Linked DNA regions of Homo sapiens: all the other regions are linked to region 3. The links are contacts of gene promoters, found by promoter capture Hi-C in blood cells and fetal thymus (Javierre and others, 2016). All regions are on one chromosome and are shown on one strand. Each heading gives the region's core, a stretch centred on a gene start or on the middle of the fragment in contact. The rest is flanking DNA. Distances are from core to core; before and after follow the strand shown. Region 1 holds the start of ABCD2 (ATP binding cassette subfamily D member 2). Region 2 overlaps SLC2A13 (solute carrier family 2 member 13). Region 3 holds the start of YAF2 (YY1 associated factor 2).

Region 1 (4,313 bases), core at 211-2,710, 2.6 Mb after region 3:
ATTATTCTCATTGTTTCTCAAGATCTTTTCTAAGAAGATTTCTCCCCTCTTAAGAAAATTTTAATAATCTCCCATATAAACACACTTGAAGTTGAGACGTTTGTGTGGAAATTAGGCCTAAGTATGTTTTTTACTACAGTAACAAAGATTTTTTTCTCCTCTTTCCTAGTTTGGAATTCAAACTAAATTAACAGTCTCTTAGCTTTAATTGCATACTGTCAATAGAAAAAAACTGAAAGAAGGCCGGGCGCGGTGGCTCACGCCTGTGATCCCAGCACTTTGGGAGGCCGACGGGGGTGGATCACCTGAGGTCAGGAGTTCGAGACCAGCCTGACCAACGTAGCAAAACCTCATCTCTACTAAAAATACAAAAATTAGCTGGGCGTGGTGGTGGGCACCTGCAGTCCCAGCTACTTGAGAGACTGAGGCAGGAGAATCACTTGAACCTGGGAGGCAGAGGTGGCAGTGAGCCTAGATTGTGCCATTGCACTCCAGCCTGGGCAACAGAGTGAGGCTCCATCCCCCTCAAAAAAAGAAAGAAAGAAAGAAAAGAAAAAGAAAAAACTGAAAGAAGTACCTTGACATTCTTAGTTTTTTACTTAAATGCCATATATTATTGACCTAATTGTCCATATGGCTTCCTGTCTTCTTGAATCCTTCCTCTGCCTTATCTGAAGGCTTGTGTCTAGTCTCAGACACTAGGACCAACTCTTACCCTTGAGAGCAGGGAGAGGTGAATGGTGGGAGTGAAATTTAAGTGGTTAGAGTTAGGTCTTCACCTAAGTGGCTCAATATCAAATCAAATTTCACGTTGACATTTTCCACACTTCAAGTAACTCACTTTCAACCTTCCTTGTACCACGATTCAGGTAACAAAATTTCTGTCTTGATCATTTTCCTCATAAATAATTCTTCATTCTCACAAGTCTCTCACTCCAGATGCTGAAAGCTTGTTCCTGCACTATAACCTCATTATCAGTTGGTAAACTGACCTACCTCCAGCTAAGTCCTATTTGAATCTCTAGTGTCCTTTGCTTCTAGAGTTCTCACTGCCATGCTCCTCCCCTAATATGGCTGTCTCTGGTTGTATGTATTGCAAACCACTTGCCTCGACTGCCAGCTGCTGTCTGCATCCTTCTGTGTACCATGTTCTGCCTAACAACATCCTGCCATCACCCCCAGTTAGGTTTACTCTGGCCTTTAACCTGTCCTGTCACTGCTAACCCTTTTGTGTGTAGCTGTTAGGAGATGTGACATAAATGAAAGGCAACCTTATCTTGCATACAACAAAAGCAAGAGCTTAGGAATAAAAGATTTTGGCAATAACTTCCATGACCACTATTATCTGTACATACAGGCTTAAAAAGTCTTAATGGGATGATGGATTATGCTACTAATATGGCCAGCTATCAAAAAAACTTGCATGAGTTTGACACTCATGTGTCAGTCAGTCTGCTGAATTGAATGCAAACAAATGAAGAGATATGTGATGATTGTCAGAATTAATATGAGTACATAAGAAAGAAGTTTTAAAATTTTAAGAATATGGTTACTTATGAAAGTGAGGATAGTTCTTTGTGATAAACTCAGTAATGAAGATCATTTAATGCTGAGATGGGTTTTATATTCTAGCACAGAGGTTTGCAAACTTCTATAAAGGGCCAAATAGTACATATTTTAGTCTTTGTTGCATCCACCACTGTGGCTTGAAAGAAGCCATAGACAGAGAGTAAATGAATGGGTGTGACTGTTTTCCAATAAAACTTTATTTATAAACACAAAAATGAGAATTTTATATAATTTTCACAGGACAAAATATTCTTGTTTTGAAGTATTTTCAACCACTTTAAAAATGTAAAAATCATTCCTAGCTTAAGGGTCATATAAAATTAAGTGGCAGGCTAGATTTGGCCCACCAGTTGTAATTTGCCAACTTCTGTTCTAGCTTGATGCATATTTTCCTAAGCTTTTAATTGACTGGAAATGTGTATGTATGTTGGGGGCCAGCTGCTGGTGAACAAAACTGGCTGTAGCTACTGAGCATACTCAGTGTCACTTAGAAATCCCCAGAAGTTTCAGAATATATATCACTTTTGTAAGATTTCAGTAGATACCACAAGCAGAAGAGCAAGCAGAAAGGGAGATTTCCGAGAATTTTAATGAGATGGGGGGCGGGGACAGTGAAGAGCAAAAAAAATGGTTTTTCCATATCCAAAAATATACTCAGCCCTGACTTAAAAAATGCTCTTGGCTGGGCGTGGTGGCCCACGTCTATAATCCGAGCACTTTGGGAGGCTAAGGCAGGTGGATCACTTGAGGCCAGGAGGTTGAGACCAGCCTGGCAAACATGGCAAAACCCATCTCTACTAAAACTACAGAAATTAGCCAAGTATGGTAGGCGCACCCTCGTAATCCCAGCTACTCGGGCTGCTGAGGCACCAACCTGGGAGGCGGAGGCTGCAGTGAGCTGAGATCGTGCCACTGCACTCCAGCCTGGGTGACAGAGAGAGACTCTGTCTCATAAAAAAAAAAAAAAAAAAAAAAAAAAAAGCTTTTTACATTTTCAAAAATATGCAGAATTGTCCTTGACTGTTGAACAATTTAAATCCTCCATTATGGATGTGAAGAATTTTAAGACTCTTAGTTTTTATCAAATAACCAAATGGAAATAGGAAGTAGCCAGTAGATTATCTCTACAGCTAAACAAAACAAACAAAGCAGAAACCTGCAAAAGACAAAGCATTCTTGAAAAATGAAGTAAGGTCCTAGAGAAGCTATTTCCACCATCCAACACCAGCTGAATTCCCAAATGGTTAAACTTTCACTATAAGTGCTACCCCACTCCAAGTAAAAACTACCTAACACATGGGAGTAGTAAACATGAAACATTGCTCTCATTTATTTAATAGTCGTCACCTTGTAAATAAATATGAGTACATCAGATCTCCAGTTATGGGGCTGGAAGATTTTTAGCATAAGGACAAGTAGGATGCAGAGGAAAAAGGGAGAATGGCTAGAGGCATAGCAAATAATTATTTTCTGTAACACGGAAGACTTTTATCCTATTTATTTACAAGGGAAACCCTCGATTACAACTTGTCTATTAGGTTCTGAGACCTTTTGTGAAATCAGACCCCCAAAAAAGCCGGGGGGATCTGTGAAAAACAGATCCAAGTGTATTTGATATTTGGCATTCTCCGGTGTCCCTCCCACTTGTCACTTTCTTTTCTGATCCGTTTCAGATTCATTCCATATCCTTTTCATATTCATTTTATGTTGATCCTCTTGTCCCTCCTCCCTCATTTTCGTGGTTCCTTCTCCCTCCTCGTCTCATTAAAACTCTTGCAAATCTCCCTTTCTGCTTGCTCTTCTGTTTGCGGTAGCTGCTGAAATCTTACCGAAGTGATGTATATTCTGAAACTTCTGCGGGTTTCTAAGTGACATTGAGCATGCTCAGTAGCTAGGGCCGGTTTTGTTCGCTTGGAAATCTCCCTTTCTGCTTGCTCTTCTGTTTGCGGTATCTACTGAAATCTTACCGAAGTGATGTATATTCTGAAACTTCTGTGGGTTTCTAAGTGACACTGAGCATGCTCAGTAGCTAGAGCCGGTTTTGTTCGCCAGCAGATGGCCTGATTCGACCTCTCCAAAAATAGACATTTTAACTCTCTGAACTCCTGTTTAAGGAAGGATGTAATTCGCTTTGCTCTCTCCTCATTTTCAAGGTTCAAAGGGAAGCTGCGAGGATTCCAAGGTCCCACCGCCCTCACAGCCAATGAGGGGCCTGGGAGGGAGGAGCTTGGTGCAGCTTGAGCTTCTGAGAGAATCATTCCCGGTAGATGCAGCGGAGTCTGAGCTCTGCTGCATCTGTCACAGCAGAACAAAATTAAAAACACAACAGTGGAAGAGAAACGCTGCAGACTATGGGACGCTGTAGGACTTTCTAAAACATTTGCTGGGGATTTCTGTGAAGCATGATCTTTTAAAACGAATTCTTTTGGAAGCCGGTTTGGGTAACTGGGAAAATGACACATATGCTAAATGCAGCAGCTGATCGAGTGAAATGGACCAGATCGAGTGCTGCTAAGAGGGCTGCCTGCCTGGTGGCTGCGGCATATGCTCTGAAAACCCTCTATCCCATCATTGGCAAGCGTTTAAAGCAATCTGGCCACGGGAAGAAAAAAGCAGCAGCTTACCCTGCTGCAGAGAACACAGAAATACTGCATTGCACCGAGACCATTTGTGAAAAACCTTCGCCTGGAGTGAATGCAGATTTCTTCAAACAGCTACTAGAACTTCGGAAAATTTTGTTTCCA
Region 2 (4,395 bases), core at 587-3,086, 2.1 Mb after region 3:
AGTAAATAATGTAATCAGATTTAACATCTCTTGAATCTGAGATGTGAGGGTTTTTGTTTTCCCATTATACTTTTAAGCTCTTTTACCTTCTTTCTTAAGTCTTCTCATGTCTTTGAAATTTTGGGTATTAGCAATCATTTGCTGAGATGGCTACTACAGGATGGGTAAAGCATAGCATGTGACCGTGAATTACTGATATGGAAGGAGTCAGTGGACCCTTCAGTAGAAACCTTTGACAAAGGCGAAGATAGCAAGGAGTAGAGTGTAGTTATTAATGGGTATTAAATGAATTGTATAGTAAAAGACCTTAAGTATCAGAAGTCAGGGATATGTGTATTTGTTTTGATTTAAGGGTTCTGTTTTCTTGACTGGTTGTAAAAAAAATACTGCGTGCCTGTTTTAAATATGGCATTATTTTGGGTTTTCTTTTCTTTTTTTTTTATTGGTTCACCAGAGTCATCTTTGGTTCCTCTAGTTTATTTTTCTCTTCCACTTGAGTCCTGACACTAGACTTTCTCCATTGTCGCTGCCTGCTACCATGACCATCTGAACTTTTTAAACGTGAAAAGTCGAATTTCAAATAGGACATACGTTTTCCATCCCAGAAATGATTGTATTCTAACAGGGTTAATCTTTTTTTTTTTTTTTTTTTTTGTCTGAGATGGAACTTCACTCTTGTCGCCCAGGCTGGAGCACGGTGGCGAGATCTCGGCTCACTGCAACCCCCACCTCCCAGGTTCAAGCGATTCTCCTGCCTCAGCCTCCTGAGTAGCTGGGATTACAGGCGCCTGCCCACCACACCCAGCTAATTTTTGTATTTTTGGTAGAGACAGGGTTTCACCATGTTGGCCAAGCTGGTCTCGAACTCCTGATCTCAGGTGATCTGCCTGCTTCGGCCTTCCAAAGTGCTGGGATTACAGGTGTGAGCCACCATGCCCGGCCCAGGGTTAATCTTATTTTGTATGTTCTTTACACACAATCCCATTTTCAGGTGTTTGTTTAGCAGTATTGTACCTATAATCAAGGTTTTGAAGTGTGGTTAGTTACAACAGGATTGAAGAATATGAGTTTGCTCATTTGCTTTATTTATTTTCTATCATTGTGTATCTCCCATGCATAACACAAAAGAAATTGTCTAGAAAACACAAAGTACAAGAGCATAGTACTGTTAACACTATTAGCATGTACACAGTCAGTGAAAAAGCATACCCATTAGCCCTTTCTCCCTGGTGTTGGCATTTATTCTACTGCTTATTATAAGTGGTGATTTAGGGCCTGTGTAGGGAATATCAAGAAATCTCTAAATTTGATAGTCACCAGTATTCAAAACCTTTCCTGAGAATTGACATACTAATTTATACAGCACGGGATTCGTTGAATTAATCTTAGATTTACATCAGTTTCTCCTGTGTCAGCCTCTTTCCGGACTCCCTCTACTTGAACACAATTTGTAGCTGTAAATTGCAGCTTGTAATTAGTATATTATGGCCTGTTGAGTAATACTTTTAAAAATACCACATTTTTTTTCAAACAGCACTTTGAATTCTTCCTCAGTGCAAATGAAATGTAAAATCTTGTTTGATCAAAAAAATGCAATGTTGAGATCAATGTCAACAAAGAATGTCATTTAAGGTAAGCATAGTTGGGCAGAAGCTCCTAATTTTCAAATAGTTAATCAGCTAAAATACAGTTTTGGGGGGAGGTGCTCAAATTTTTTTTTTTTCCACTACTCCCCACTTTCTTTCTTTTTGGTTGTTTTTGAAGGCAGGAATTCTGTATTGGATTTATGCTTCCTACTGGTGTGAAACTGACACATAAAGCCTCCTTTGACTTCTTGTATTTCCTTGTTTTATACACATTAACAGCTTTGTTCCCTCCCCTTTTCTGTCTGGCAGCCTAGGGACTGACACTGCAGTTATAGTGAGGATTATGATCTAGTTGTGTTTGCCTAGTAGTATAGCAACACCCTCTTCAAGTGAGTTGTCAGTAAGATAACGTAAGTCTGTTAACGTGAGTTATGTGAAATTGTTCACGTGACTTCCTTGGAAAACATTGTGCTTTTTCATTCATCCATTTTGCCCTCTTATGGATTATAAACTTAAAGTAAGAACACACTCAAAGTTAACTGACTTCACACTAACATCTTTTTGAACACCTTTAATGATGTAGAAACTGCTAAGAGAACTGAAATAGCAAGCAGTCGTTGCCATCTTTACCCAAAATCACCTGAGTCTAATTTTCTTTTTCTCATATTGTACTTGGCTCCTTTGTACATCTTTCTTGTCTACACCTTTTTCCATTTCTTTACCTTTCTTTTTCCTGTGACCCATCAGAGTAATAAATAGTAGCAACACTTCTTATAGCACCTATTTCTAATAGTATCAAAACTTCCATTGTCAGGAGGAAAATTCATACTCACCAGAAAAACCTCAAACTTTTCCCACATGTAAAATTTAATTTCTCTGGTTGTAGAAAGAGAGAAAAAAGTTTTACGGGTACTTCTAAACTCAAGTTGAGAGTACTACATGCTTTCTAGTTAGGCCTTTTATTAAAGGCCACCATTTGAAATGGTGCGGTCTGCAGCATGTGTCCAAGGCCACGTGGCAGGAGCATCGTTTCACAGCAGGGCCAAGCACCGTGACAGCTGGTCACCAGCGAGCAATGGCACCAGTGTTCTTCTGATTTTAGCGCCACCCTGCCGCTGCACTGGGAGGAGTCTAGGCAGTCCATCCTCTTGGCAGGGTGTGGATTGGCCATCAGCTTAGCGGCCAACACCCTGGACGTAGTACTTAAGACTTGTTGAATGCTTAACTTCTAAACATTTTGCACATGGCTAATTCACATAGTCTTCATAATAACCCAGGGGGATAATACGGTTACCTTTATTTTAAGATAAGGATATTTAGGCAGAAAGAGTTGAAGTAACTTTCTCATGATCACAAAGCTACTGGGTGGGGCCAGAGTTCAAACCCAAGAGGTCTGGCTTCCCAGCCTGTGCTCAACCAGTCTGTGACACTCACTCACTCACTCACTCCTCCCTGAAACTAGCATAATTGTTCTTTACCATGATATGTCATGTGGACATTACTTTTGTTTGTTTTAGTATAGATTTATTTTTTTATTGTGGTAAAGAACACATAACATTTATACTCTTAACCCATTTTAAGGTGTACAGTTCAGTATTGTTAGGTATATTCACATTGTTGCACAACACATCTCTAGAACATTTTCATCTTGCAAAACTGAAACACTGTGTCTATTAAACACAAATTCCCCAGCCTCTCTTCCCTATCCCTTGGCAACCCACCTTTCTACCTTCTGTTTCTATGATTTTTACTGCTTTGGATACTTCACGTAAGTGGAATCATGCAGTATTTGTCCTTTGTTGGCTTACTTCACTTGAGGTTCATCATGGTGTAGCATATGATAGAGTTTCCCTCTTTTTAAAGGCTGCATAATATTCCATTGTGTATATGTGTGTGTATATATATACACACCTATATATACACACACATATAAAAATAAATACACATATATGCATATATACATATATATACACATATATACATATATACACATATATACATATATACATACATATACACATATATAGGGCATTTAATCTATCCATTCGTCTGTTGATGGACCTTTGAGTTGCCTCTCCCTCTTGGCTGTTGTGGATAATGCTGCAATGAAGATGGGAGTGCATACATCTCTTTGAGGTCCTTCTTTGAATTATTTTGGATATATACCCAGAATTGAGATTGCTGGACCATGTAGTAGTTCTATTTCTAATTTTTTGAGGAACTTCTATCCCATTTTCCATAGTGGCTGCATTTTACATTGCTACCAGCAGTATACAGGGTTCCAATTTCTCAATATTCCCACCAATATTTGTTGTTTTCTTTTCTTTTGACAGTGGCCATCCTAATGGATATGAAGTGATATGGTGGTTTGGATTTACATTTCTCTTATGATTAGTGATGTGGAACATTTTTTCATAGGCTTGTTGGCCACTTGTACATTTGTATATCTTCTTTGGAAAATTGTTTATTGCATTTTCACGTCCCTGACCTATTTTTAATTGGTTTATTGCAGTTGCTATTGAGTTGTAGAAGTTCCTTATGTATTCTGAATATTAACCCCCTATCAGATATATGATTTGCAAATGTTTTCTTTCATTCCATTGGTTGCTTTTTCACTGTTTATTGTGTCTTTTGATGTACAGTTTTTAAGTTTGATGTAGTCCTATTTGTTTTTGCTAAACACACACAAAACTAAAACTGTTGGAGTCATTTGTCATGCCCCTTGAGAGTAAGCTTTTTGGAAGTTCTAATAAAATACTAGATTTTACTTCTAGGAGTATGTCATTTTGTTCCCTAGAATACATTCTTT
Region 3 (4,628 bases), core at 1,426-3,925:
CTGGAGATGCAGCAATAAAGGCAACAAAAGTTATTGTGCTTTTTGTTCATGATTCAGAGGTGCGGCTTACTTTTTAGTGAGGGAGGTTACAATCTAGTGAAATGGTGATTTGCAGCATGGGGGATTTTTAGAGTGCTTGATTTAGTTTCCTTTTTATTTAAAAATACATTGTTGCCATCACTTTTGCAAGTAGAGCAGTTCTTGTCAGTCTATTTGAGGATCCATCCAGTTGAGGCATTTAAAAACATCACAATGCCTTAGACTTGCAAGGGACCTTAGTTGTGATAATAGTTTTAACTCCTTTATTTTACATATGAAAAAAACTTAGCTGAGTTTACCCACTGCATTACTGAGAGGTTAAAGACTAGGCCTTAAATCTGGTTCTCTTGTATACGTGCCTCAATCATACTCCTCATGGTTCCTGGTTTCCGAATTTGGGTCTGAATCATGAGAAGCTACATTTGCAAAAAGTACAGATGGTACAACGAGTTTAGAGACTGCTATGTAAATGGAGTGATTTGGTTAATCAGAAAGAAGATGCGGTGAAAGACCAATAGGATACCTGAGCTCTAACCCTGGCCTGCTCATCAAAGAAAAACCATTTAACCTGGGCCCTAATTGCCTTGTCTTTAAAAAGAAGGGCTAGACTACGGATTTACAATGGCTCGACTTACGATTTTTCTACTTTACGATGGATTTATCGGTGTACCAAATGCATTTTCAATTTACAATATTTTCTATTTAAGGTGGATTTATCGGGAAGTATCCCCTTTCTAAATCGAAGAGCATCTGCAGTCGATGAGGCCATGTGCATAGTACTTTGAGTCCTTTAAAATATGCATCTATGCGCAGGGATTTACAAAGTGCCTGGCACATAGTGCTCAAAAAAATGTTATTTATTTATTTACTTAGAGGCGGAGTCTCGCTCTGTCGCCCAAGCTCGAGTGCAGTGGCACGATCTCGGCTCACAGCAACCTCTCACTCTCGGATTCCAGCGATTCTCCTACCTCAGCCTCCCGAGTAGCTGAGATTACAGGCGCCCGCCACCACAGCTGGCTAATTTTTGTATTTTTTAATAGAGATGGGGTTTCGCCACGTTGGCCAGGCTGGTCTTGTGAACTCCTGACCTCAGGTGATCCGCCCGCCTCGGCCTCCCAAAGTGCTGGGATTACATGCGTGAGCGACCGCAACCGGCCAAAAAATGTTATTATTAATCGCACAACAATCTCATATAGATGCAATTCAGAATATGAAAACGTTGAGAATTACAGAAATTAAGCAATACTTCCAAGGTCTATCAGCTAAGAAACAGGAGAAGCAGGCTGAGAATCCTGGGCTTCTGACTGTATTATTTCCTATGTAGTTTAGCTATAAAATTATTTTACATGAATTCGGACTTGATGTAAACCTAGAAAGATGGACAGAAACAGCACAGTTAAAGAGGGATATACTTTATGCAGAAGTAACCCATGTGCATGAAGGAAGGGTTCTGGTAAGGGAATGAATTTCATCTGCACTCTTTGTCAGGAGGCAGCTTTCCTTATGGGAGAGGGAGGCAGAGGTAGGGAAAATGTGTGAAGCCTTTGAATGCCAGGCTAAGGAGTGTGGGCAAGTCGTTAGTGGTTCTTTATCAGAGTGGTGGCATAGTATTAACAGCATTTTATTATTAATCTGGTTGTGGATTACTGAATACATTGGGGAGGTAGAAGTGGAGCTTCGGAGACCAGTTAGATGGCTGTTGCTGGAGTCTGGAGTATGAGGACCTTTAGTATGTTGACGTAGAGACCTGGGAAGGTGTTCTTTTGTTAGCAGACAGCGTTGAGGGGACATGCAAACTCCTTATATTTAAAAAGGACTTATGAGTATATAGGGGTTTCTTTCAAAAGCAGCTACTGCAGAGGCCTGAGAGGCCAAAAGGGCGCGTTTGGAATTAAAACAGAGTTAGACTCTTGGCTTTGTCATTTTCTAATTATATAGCCTAGAGGAAGTCACCTAATCTCTCTTGAGTCTTGATTTCAATTCCTCTAAGTTAGGGTTGACAATCCCTACTTGTTAGAGCATCTGTGTGCATAAACCAGACAGTGCTTTAAGGCATGTAGCAATGGCGCTGCGTGTTGGTTCCCGCCTTCCCCCCGGTATACTGCAGGCGGGGGCTGGGTAGCTAAGGACAGCGGAGGCCAGGAAAGTCGTTCTACCTGGAGATCCCGGGCTGGCACTTCTGTCCAGACCTGGACAGGCCTCCGAACGCCGGCCGGCCCTACCTTGGACCAGGCTTCGCACGGGATGACGGAGCATCCCCTGCCAGTCGGTGGGACAGACGTTTTCCTCCTCAGAGGGGCTCTGGAGCGCGAGGCAGTCCCCGGCAGCCGGGGGTACCAAGGGGGCAACGGGGGAACAGCGCGGAGAGGCGGCGCCGGCGCCCGAGGCAGCCGCGGCCACCGCGGCCACCCCCGCACCGCCCGCCGGCTAACTCGCCGCGGGTGCTGGGCCGCGCTGGCCGCGTTTGAAGTCTCCGGCGCGGCTGCTGGTTGGCCGGCGAGGGTCACGTGCGCCCAGGCAGGAGTTTCCCCGACAGCTGGAGGCTGCGTGGGATCCGGCGGCGGCTCCCGAGCGCGGCGGTGCGGCCTTCCCCGCCCCCTCCCTCCCTCCTCCCCCGCCCGCTTCCGCCCGGCTTATTATCCTCCTTATTGACAAACAGAGCGGTCGCGGCGGCGACTCTCGGCGTGCGGTGATAGCCAAGCCATGGGAGACAAGAAGAGCCCCACCAGGTAACAGCGCCCGGGCCCCGGGGCCCGGACTGTGCGGGCGGCAGGGCCCTCGTGCAGGGCTTCGGGTGGCCGCCTCGCTAGCCGCCCGGGCACCGGGGCGAGCACGGGGGCAGCGCCGCTGGTGTGCGAGTGCTGCCGCTTGAGGGGGCCGGCGCCGGCCGCCCCACAATGGAGCCGCGATGGCGGCGGCGACCGGAGCGGCCGCCCGGGTGTCAGAGCGGCTGTGGCGGCGGCGACTGCGGCCGCGCTCGCGCCCTGCCTCTTCCTGACTCCCTTCCCCCTCAGCCGGAGCGCGGCGCGCCGAGGGCCCGCGGGGCGGGGGTCGCAGAATTGGGGCGGGGGGCGGGGCGGGGGCGGCCGCGGGGCCCGGGCACCGGGCGCGGCCTGCTGGTGACCCCGCGCCGCGTCGTGTCCGGGTTGTGTCCTGCAGGCCGAAGCGGCAGCCGAAGCCGTCCTCGGATGAGGGTTACTGGGACTGTAGCGTCTGCACCTTCCGGAACAGCGCCGAGGCCTTCAAGTGCATGATGTGCGATGTGCGGAAGGGCACCTCCACCCGGTGAGTCCCGGGCCTGCCCCTCGCGCCGCCGGCCGGCGGGGTGGCGACCAGAGGACGCCCTTGCGGCTGCCGCCCCCTCCCATGACACTGGCGGACCCGGCGGGAGGAGGCAGACGGAGGTGGCTGTGGCGATAGGAACTGGGTCACATTGATCGCAACCCAGGCGATGGTTTGCGGTGAGGGGTAATTGAAGAGGCTGTAACGTTTTTTGCTGCCAAGAGAGAATAAATTATTTAAGGGAGGCATTAGCTACTGCGATTTAATTCGTATCGCTGGGTGTAATGCCCCTCTCCCCATTCTGGGTATAAAAATGTTGGCTGCATTGTTGTGTTAGTGTGTGGGGATCAAGGAAAACCCATAAAATCTCTTTAGGAGCAAAGGATGTAATTTAATTTCGTTCCTAAAGAAAGAAAAGTATCTGATTGCAGAATACACAATATATTAAAACTTATTTTTCTACATGTACTTCTGGAAGGGTCAGATCAAGGTTTTATTTAGTGTTTTTATTCCAGTACTCTAATATTTTATAAATAAGTAGTTGGAGATGAGCCCAGTCACAGGAACAGATTTTTACTGAAAGTACCTTTATATCTTTAGTTTGATTAAATGGCAGTCTCTTAGACAAATGAGATGAAAAGATCTCTGCCTATTTTCAGACTTTATTTATTGTAAGCTTGCAGTATAATAACTCTGTCTTTTAAAAAATGACTTTGAATTAAGTGAATAAAGAAAATCATCCAGGAAATTCAGTCAGTGGCATTCTTAATCTGTCAGCACTTAGTTATCGAGCTCCTTGATTCTTATACGAAGGTACCCTTTGAATTAAATATAATCCTGTGATTTATTACTTAATATTTAGAGAAGATATGTATTTTGATATTACAAAGTCCATTAGAAACTAAACTATAACAATAAGCATACTAATCTTACTGTTGCTTTAAAAAAGAAGGCACATGTAATATTGACATATACAAATATTCAGTAGACGTTAGATTTCTAAAAAATGAGATCTTGATTTTTTAAAAAACACTTTACAGAATTTTATTAAGTTTAAAATTTAGAGACAGGAATGGTTGACAGTAACTTATCTGAAAAATTTCTCAGTGAAGCTCGCTGGTTTTGACATGCTTGTTTTTTGTAAATCATCATATGCTTTTTGTATATTCCCACAATTGATAAAATATTTCGTACATTTTTCATATTCAAAAAGCAAACTTTCAAACGTATGCTAAATTTAAGGGATTACAACAGAACATTCCAAAAAGAAAAAAAGTATTTGCTAAAATGATTGTGGTTACTATTTT

Evidence for each region. Contacts are between HindIII fragments. The CHiCAGO score rates a contact against its expected background, and 5 or more counts as called.
Region 1: a fragment that was not itself captured here is called in contact with the fragment with the promoter of YAF2 in region 3 in 1 of 17 cell types (activated CD4 T cells); the score reaches 5.0 in activated CD4 T cells.
Region 2: a contact is called between a fragment that was not itself captured here and the fragment with the promoter of YAF2 in region 3, in 1 of 17 cell types (non-activated CD4 T cells). The highest score is 5.6, in non-activated CD4 T cells.

Annotation. Positions count from the first base shown.
Region 1 is chr12:39,619,325-39,623,637 of GRCh38, reverse strand. ABCD2 (ATP binding cassette subfamily D member 2) reads left to right here and starts at 3,835. Exons shown (of 10, transcript NM_005164.4): 1 at 3,835-4,313. The coding sequence starts at 4,023. RefSeq lists enhancers at 2,215-2,294, 3,524-4,043. The HindIII fragment of the contact is 1,017 bases long and covers 952-1,968 here.
Region 2 is chr12:40,097,229-40,101,623 of GRCh38, reverse strand. All of the region lies in intron 1 of SLC2A13 (solute carrier family 2 member 13), which reads left to right. Among named protein-coding and RNA genes, the nearest start is that of SLC2A13, 6.7 kb to the left of the region's middle. RefSeq lists a silencer at 1,783-2,077. The HindIII fragment of the contact is 4,970 bases long and covers 1-4,321 here.
Region 3 is chr12:42,236,295-42,240,922 of GRCh38, reverse strand. It overlaps YAF2 (YY1 associated factor 2), which reads left to right and starts at 2,675. Exons shown (of 4, transcript NM_005748.6): 1 at 2,675-2,768; 2 at 3,199-3,324. The coding sequence starts at 2,743. LOC124902920 (a long non-coding RNA gene) reads right to left here and starts at 2,478. Exons shown (of 2, transcript XR_007063279.1): 1 at 2,196-2,478; 2 at 1,645-1,786. RefSeq lists silencers at 1,930-2,069, 2,260-2,499, 2,550-2,929, 3,030-3,099, 3,220-3,549 and an enhancer at 2,883-3,384. The HindIII fragment of the contact is 7,822 bases long and covers 1-3,999 here.